2 separate regions of the Homo sapiens genome follow, and region 2 is linked to region 1. Evidence: promoter capture Hi-C in 16 types of primary human blood cells and fetal thymus (Javierre and others, 2016). All regions are on one chromosome and are shown on one strand. Each heading gives the region's core, a stretch centred on a gene start or on the middle of the fragment in contact. The rest is flanking DNA. Distances are from core to core; before and after follow the strand shown.

Evidence for each region. Contacts are between HindIII fragments. The CHiCAGO score rates a contact against its expected background, and 5 or more counts as called.
Region 2: a contact is called between a fragment that was not itself captured here and the fragment with the promoter of PDK2 in region 1, in 2 of 17 cell types (megakaryocytes and endothelial precursors). The highest score is 5.1, in megakaryocytes.

What each region holds. Positions count from the first base shown.
Region 1 is chr17:50,091,749-50,096,713 of GRCh38, forward strand. PDK2 (pyruvate dehydrogenase kinase 2) reads left to right here and starts at 3,603. Exons shown (of 11, transcript NM_002611.5): 1 at 3,603-3,805. The coding sequence starts at 3,688. It overlaps LOC124904024 (a long non-coding RNA gene), which reads left to right and starts at 1,114. Exons shown (of 2, transcript XR_007065837.1): 1 at 1,114-1,831; 2 at 2,594-2,905. RefSeq lists enhancers at 2,762-2,971, 4,003-4,518, 4,519-4,965 and a silencer at 3,352-3,471. The HindIII fragment of the contact is 3,439 bases long and covers 2,452-4,965 here.
Region 2 is chr17:50,194,309-50,196,808 of GRCh38, forward strand. It overlaps COL1A1 (collagen type I alpha 1 chain), which reads right to left. Exons shown (of 51, transcript NM_000088.4): 12 at 2,309-2,362; 13 at 2,176-2,220; 14 at 2,006-2,059; 15 at 1,847-1,891; 16 at 1,615-1,668; 17 at 1,259-1,357; 18 at 1,126-1,170; 19 at 924-1,022; 20 at 739-792; 21 at 413-520; 22 at 265-318; 23 at 41-139. Among named protein-coding and RNA genes, the nearest start is that of COL1A1, 6.1 kb to the right of the region's middle. RefSeq lists an enhancer at 2,033-2,500. The HindIII fragment of the contact is 9,239 bases long and covers 1-2,500 here.

The DNA of each region.
Region 1 (4,965 bases), core at 2,353-4,852:
CACCTCCCTCCACCAGCGCTCAGCTCACAACAGGGTTCTGGGCCCAATGTCCGCCCCTTTCCCTCTCCTCACTTTCTGTGCCGGGATTTGCCCCTTCCCAGGGTGACTGACAATGGAATGTCCACTTTCCCAAGGAAAACCCTAGCCCCTACCCGGAGCTGCCAAGCTCTCAGAACCCAGTGAATGGAGACCACACTTTATTTTCTAGAATCTGGGATCCAGTTCTTTGGGCATAACATGTGTGGGTTGTCAAAGCTCGGCCCAGTCTTGTCCTTACAGCCACTTCCTGCTTAAGACAGGGGTGTTGACACATCCCTCTGGCCAGTTTCACAGACCCCCTAGTCTCCTGTGAGCCACTGCTTGAGGAAGACCCCCCCCACACACACACACACTCTTGAGGATAGGTCATTTTCAGAACTAGCGTGAGCTACATATTATGAAAGAAACATAACTGGCAGAGATATAGCAATGCCCACTGTAAAAGAACCCTCTGCAATGCCAAGTTTCTTGAGCTCCTTGGAGAGTCCCCCCCCACCAACCCACACTGTACATATAGTGGGAGATTTGGGAATCGGTGGGGGTGCAGTTTACCTCGGCATCACCTAACCAAACTTGACTATGATGTACCACATCACACCACTGCTGTTAGCACCCTGCAGCAGGCTCTGCAGAAAGAGTTCTTATCCAAGCACAGAGCCCACATTATGGAAGTCCAGCCTAAGGTGAGGGTCATGGGAAATCTCTTTCCCTCTCCTACACCTAGCCTTAGAGGCCACGGCCTTTTCCTTGTTACTTTAATTTTGACAATAACAGCAATAGCTACCATTTATTGCTAGGCACAGAAATAAGCCTTTTTTTTTTTTTTTTTTTTTTTTTTTGAGACCGGGTCTCAGTCAGTTACCCAGATTGGAGTGCCGTGGCACAATCATGGCTCTGGCTCACTGCAGCCTTGACCTCTGGGGCTCAAGGAATCTTCCTACTTCAGCCTCCCAAGTAGCTGGGACTATAGGTACATGCCACCACACTCAGCTAATTTTATATTTTTTGTAGGGACAAGATCTTGCTATGCTGCCCAGGCTGGTCTCGAACTCCTGGGCTCAAGCAATCCTCCTACCTCAGCCTCCCAAAGTGAGGGCCAGGTTTTTTTGTACATAATATTCTATATATTATTCTGTGCACTTGAAAACTGCACTCACCAGCATCATCAATCACGTCCTAATTGCTAGCCCAGTGGATGTTTGGTGGTTCTCTGGAATATCTCTGTGGTGTGCTCCTCTGCTTGCCCTGTCTTCTTTTTCACCCTGTCCTCCCTACTAGGTGCTGAGTACTGCCTGATGCTAGAGATAGGGCAGTGAATAAGACAGATACAACCCCTGCCCTGCCCTCACGGAGCTTAAAGTCTAGCGGGAAAACAGATCAGTTGGCAAACAATTTTCACTCAATTGATAAGAGCTACCATCAGCTCCTTTTAACCCCTCCTTCCTGGATTTGTCCAGGTAGCTTTCAGCCAATCCCTTTCCTCGACGAGGTACCTGTTTCACATGTCCTGATCTTTCCTTGTCCTCTCTTAAGGGGTCTTGTGGATTCCCAGTCTGGATGACAGTGACCCAGACTGCGAATATTTGCTAAGACCAGGAGATCTAAGGAGCCCTTGAAGGGAGCCTATAACCCAGCTTGGCAGGATCAAGGAAGGCTTCCAGGAGGAAGGGATGACTAAGCAGCTGAGACCTGAAGAATGGGCAGGTGAAGGTGGGAAGAAAGAATGATCCAGACAGAAGAGATGCATTTGCAGTGGCTTAGAGATTAGAGGCTGGTTCAAGGCAGCAGACAGGTATGGCTGGGAGCTGCATGGGGGAATGTAGAGAGAGGAGTCTGGAGAATTAAGCAAAAGTCAATCGACTTGTGACAACTGGAAAGGCTCCAGTAAGAAGAAGAGAGCCATTGATGGCCTAGCACAGTGCCTCATACCTGTAATCCCTGCACTTTGGGAGGTTGAGGCGGGCAGATCACTTGAGGTCAGGAATTCAAGACCAGCCTGGCCAACATGGTGAAACCCTGTCTCTACTAAAATTACAAAAATTAGCCAGGCATGGTAGTACATGCCTGTTATCCCAGCTACTTGGAAAGCTGAGACAGGAGAATCGCTTGAACCTGGGAGGAGAAGTTTGCAGTGAGCCAAGGTTGTGCCACTGCACTCCAGCTTGGACGACAGAGGGAGACTCAATCTCAAAAAAAAAAAAAAAAAAAAAAAAAATAGCCCATTGAAAGGCTGTGAGCAAGGAAGTAATAAGGTCAGATTTGCAGTTGAGAATGATCCCTGAGTCTCGGTTTTCTTATCTATGAAATGAGGCTAAGAATAATAAAATAGAGAATTAAATGAGATAATGCCTGTAAACAGTGCCTGGCATATAGCTTATTATTCATCCAGCTAAGAGGCCCTTCCATATGTGAAGCTTTGCTCTGTGAGGTCTGTATTACAATCACATTCAGTTATAGCTAATTATTTACTTATGTAGCTATCTCTGAAACTTAGAAATGAAATCATCGAGGAAAAAGGCCATTTCTTGATCCTGTCTGTGTTCCCTGTTCCCAGCATAAAGCCTAACACGTATTAGGCTAATGTCACCGAGCAAAGAAAGCATCAAAGTGGCGGGTCGGGCCCTAAACCCACGATGGGAGATACCACATTCGGCCACAAGAGGGCGCGTCACATTTTCTCCAAGAGAAGCTGGGCCGCTGATGAAGGACGGGCTCCGGGCCTCCCAGAGACACTTCACCTCCTGGGATCTTGCTCTAAGGAAGCCCGGTGCGAAGGAGGTGGCTTTCTCAGGTGGTCGCGCTAGATGTCCAAGGCTTTATGTTCGGTCAGATGAGCTGTATAATAAAATGAAAGTGTTAACTGGCATGGACGATAGCTGCTGCCTCCACCGCCACTAGTAGTGATGGTTTTTACTCTGGATGTTTTTCAGTTGGAAAAGCAAACTCCGCCTTTTCCTGAGCCGCTTGGATCTTTGTGGAAGCGGGTGGGCTGCATATATACAGGACGGATTCGTATAGGCTTGCACCCTGGTTCCGAATTTTGCAAATATTCGCAGTCTGGGTCACTGTCATCCGGACTGGGAATCCCCAAGACCCGTTAAGGGAGGATAGGTAACGATCATGACAGGTGAAACAGGTACCTTTGAGTTGGAGAAAAGGGATTGGTTGAAAGCTACCTAGACAACTCTGGAAAGGAAGGGTTAAAAGGAGCCTGCAGGTGAAGGAGATGCGAGGGGGTAGCAAGGGAAAGGCAGGCGTGGAAGAGGAAGCGAAAGGGCTGGCGGGGCTCTGGGAAGGAAGGGGTTAACCCGGGCTTCGCCCCGCGGAGGAAAGGGAGGAGTGAACACAGGGGAGGTGGGAACTCGGCGCGGCCTCCCCAAAACAACAGGCCGCCCCGGCAAAGCGTGGGTTAAGGGGGCGGGCCCGGGGGAAGCCACGTGCCGGGGCGGAAGGCTATTGGTTCGCCCGGAGTTGTTTGTGAGTGGCCATTGGCGACGTCGAGGCGCCATGACGAGCCGATTGGCTGGGCGTTGGAATGCCCGCCAGGGCAAGGGTAGGGAGGAGGCGGCCGAACCGCGTCGCTGGGCCGAAAGGTGCGCGAGCGCTGCCCGCGCGGGGACCACAACCAAAGTCGCGGCCGCCGCAGCCATGCGCTGGGTGTGGGCGCTGCTGAAGAATGCGTCCCTGGCAGGGGCGCCCAAGTACATAGAGCACTTCAGCAAGTTCTCCCCGTCCCCGCTGTCCATGAAGCAGTTTCTGGACTTCGGTACGGAGTGGGCGGGAGGCGGCTGGCAGCGGAGGCCGGCGGGGCGCTGGGAGGGGCAGCCGGGGGCTAGGGGGACGGAGGAGAAGAAAGGCCCCGAGTGACAGAGAAGGGTTGTTTGGAAAGGTACAGGCAGGAAAGAGTTAATGGGGAAGCAGGAACCGGCCGGGGCCTCTCGACGGGGCTGCTGATGGGAATGGGGGGCATTTACAAGGACGGTCCCGAGGTTTCTTCGTGGGCCTCATGAAGGGTCTTGAAGAGTAAGGGGCAGTGAAGCTGTGATGTTACTGCAGGAAGGGAGTAGGGTGGTATCCAGACGCGAAAGGGTTAATGGGAGTTGTCCTCATGACTGGAGGAGTAGGGGCCCCTCCTCCCACCAGAGGAAACCGGGGGTCTGCTGGTGGGAGTGAGGAGGCAGGGTTTAGAGGTGCAGCCATCTGTAGAGAGACCTGGACTGGGCATGAAGGGTCAGACACCCCTGGGCAGAGGGTGAGATTAAGCCAGGGGCAGTTGGGGAAGGGGGCTCTTTCAGAAGATGCCATTGGGAGACAGTGCCCTGACTGGTAGACATCCACCCACAGAAGGAGCTGGACCCTAGCTGCCCCAGTGGGCAAGGACACTTGAAGATCAAATCTGTTCCGGCCTGGCAGCCTCTCCCCAGCTGGGCAGGGGCCCCAGGCACCGTGATGTGGAGTCAAGCCGCCTATACCTCCCTTGGCTGCCCCAGGGCTGCTAGGTCAGGATCGCCCACTACCAGCAACCTGGGGGTGGCCCTGGGGCAGGAGGGAGGCTGTGCCAACGTGGCAGCTGAAATGGGCATTGTGTGGGCCCTGTCTGTCTATGTGGTATTTCCATGGTGCCAGCTGGGGACTGGGGGTGGGGGGCAGTCTCTCAAGAGTTGAGTTGATAGTGCCTAGCTTGGGTTGCAGCTGCGTCAATGATGGGACGGGAACAGAGAGGTGGCAGCCGAGACATAAGGCACCTGTTCCTCAGGACTTGTCTGCCTGCACCCCTGCCCTGCCTGAGTCTTGAGCCTCCCCCATGTAGGAAAGCCTCCTGGGCCCACCCCTAGCCCCCAGCAGCTGTCCCCACAAACTGCACCCTAATTACAGAAACATCACAGCTGTGAGGGGCTCACAGTAGAGTTTGGTCAACTTGTAGTA
Region 2 (2,500 bases), core at 1-2,500, 100 kb after region 1:
CAGGGCCTGGCCAAGCCAGGCTGAAAGCCTGGGGCCTCACCTTGGCACCAGGCAGACCAGCTTCACCGGGACGACCAGCTTCACCAGGAGATCCTTTGGGGCCAGCAGGGCCAGGAGAACCACGTTCACCAGCGGGACCCTGGTTGGGGGAAGTCACAGGAACAGTTAGGGTCTCAAGTTTGTGGCTCTTTGCCACGGGCCAAAAGAGGAAGAAGATGCCCAGGGAGCGGCAGGGTCAGCCCCCCGGCCGCAAGGAGAGGTTACCTTGGGACCAGCAACACCATCTGCGCCAGGGAAACCACGGCTACCAGGTCCACCCTGCAGGAGGAGAGGAGGCCAGTGAACTCCGCGACACACAGGCACCAGCCAGGCAATGAGGGTGGAGCGGGAGGGGGCGGGCAGGGACACTTACACGCTCGCCAGGGGGTCCGGGCAGGCCAGTGGGTCCGGGTTCACCTCGAGCTCCTCGCTTTCCTTCCTCTCCAGCAGGGCCAGGGGGTCCTTGAACACCAACAGGGCCCTGGAGAGGGCCGAGAGGAGGAGGCGGCCTGTGGTGAGGGGCCATCCTGTGCCAGCCTCAGAGCCGGCTGAGGCTGGGCCTCCAGTGTCAGGGGTTCCTGGGGGTGTGGCAGGGACTCCCCCAGAAGACTAGGGGCTCCTCTTCCTTTCTGGATTTCCCTCAGGGGGCTCCTAGGGCAGGGTGGGCTGGGCTGCAAGAAGGATGGCGGGGAGACTTACAGGCTCTCCCTTAGCACCAGTGTCTCCTTTGCTGCCAGGAGCACCAGGTTCACCCTGCAAGGGGGGAGAAGAGGATGAGCTGAGAGTCGGGGGCGCTCAGTTGGCCTGCGTCTTCCTGCTCCCCAGATGAGAGCCGCACTGGAGCCAGTGCATGGGGTGGGCAGAAGGGAGAGTTTGGTACTCACGCTGTTACCCTTGGGACCAGGAGGGCCGCCGGGGCCCTGGGGTCCAGAGGGGCCTCGGGCACCAGGGAAGCCAGGAGCACCAGCAATACCAGGAGCACCCTGTGGGAGGCAGACAGCCAGGGCGTGAGCCTAGGAGCAGAGGGAAAGGGGCAGGCAGGCTGCAGGCGGCAGGAGTGGGACTGAAGCCTGGCAGGATACTTACATTGGCACCTTTAGCACCAGGCTGTCCATCAGCACCAGGGTTTCCCTGTGGCACAGAGAAAGGAGTGTCAGCAACAGGCAAGGACTCTGAGGTTAGAAAGTGGCAAAGGGGACACTGAGTCGGGGACACTTACAGCAGGGCCAGCAGCACCAGCAGGGCCAGGGGGGCCAGGCTCACCACGCACACCCTGGGGACCTTCAGAGCCTCGGGGCCCTTGGGGACCAGCTTCACCCTGAATCAGAAGAAAGGACATATCAGAAGCCACCCTGGGAAACCCAACCTTGCCTCTCGGGATGGCAGGAGGAAGGGGAGACAGGGACAGGAGAGCAATGATCAGGACTCTAAGATCAGAGACGGAGAACCCAGGACAAAGGTGTTAGTGAACGGGCTGCTCTCTTGCCACTCTGGGTCCCTTTGGTTTGGGGAACAGGGAGACATGAACCCCTTGGCCCATGAGGGTCATGCTTAGAGGAGAGTGGGGGGTCTCACCTTAGCACCAACAGCACCAGGGAAGCCAGGAGGACCAGCGGGGCCGGTGGGACCCTGTGAATGAAATGGAGATGTCAGCGAGAAGGAAGAGATGGCAGCTGCAAGTCACACCCTGGGACAGAGGAAGTCCTGGGGTTCAGACCAACATAACCTGCTCCCATTGTCAGCCCCAAGAGCAGATACTGAGACCCCTCCCCACTCCCAGGCCCTGAGGCCTACAGGCCACACTCACAGGGGGCCCGGCAGCACCAGTAGCACCATCATTTCCACGAGCACCCTGCAGGAGAGAGGGGAAGCCCCGTTAAGTCCACTGAGCACTGGCCAGTCCCTAGAGTTCCTGGGGAGCCCCTTCCAGAGCTCAGGGATCCCCCAAGGGGCCAGGAGTACTTACAGCAGGGCCAGGGGCTCCAGGGCGACCTCTCTCACCAGGCAGGCCACGGGGGCCCTGACAACCAAACCAAGAGAAGTCAGATGAGATGGGAGACAGCCTTGTTCCCCCAGGCCTCCATCTTGCCCCTGCCTCCTGCCCCATCCCTGCCCTCTGGAACTGGGCACACTCACCATCTGACCAGGAGCTCCATTTTCACCAGGGCTGCCAGGCTCACCCTGTAGATCAGAGAATAATGAGTGAGAAATTCATTCATGGTGGGACTCTGGGGATGTGGAGGACCATGATGTTCAGACAGCCTCTTACCTTAGGACCAGCAGGACCAGCATCTCCCTTGGCACCATCCAAACCACTGAAACCCTAAAGCAGGAAAGAGGTAGAAGGTAAGAACCTGTGGAGGGGGTGGAACAGCCTTGACATCCACCTAGATCTGAGAAAGAGCCTTGGGAGGTCATCACCGCCATCCCTTTGTTTCTGAGCTAGACTAAACCCCAACTG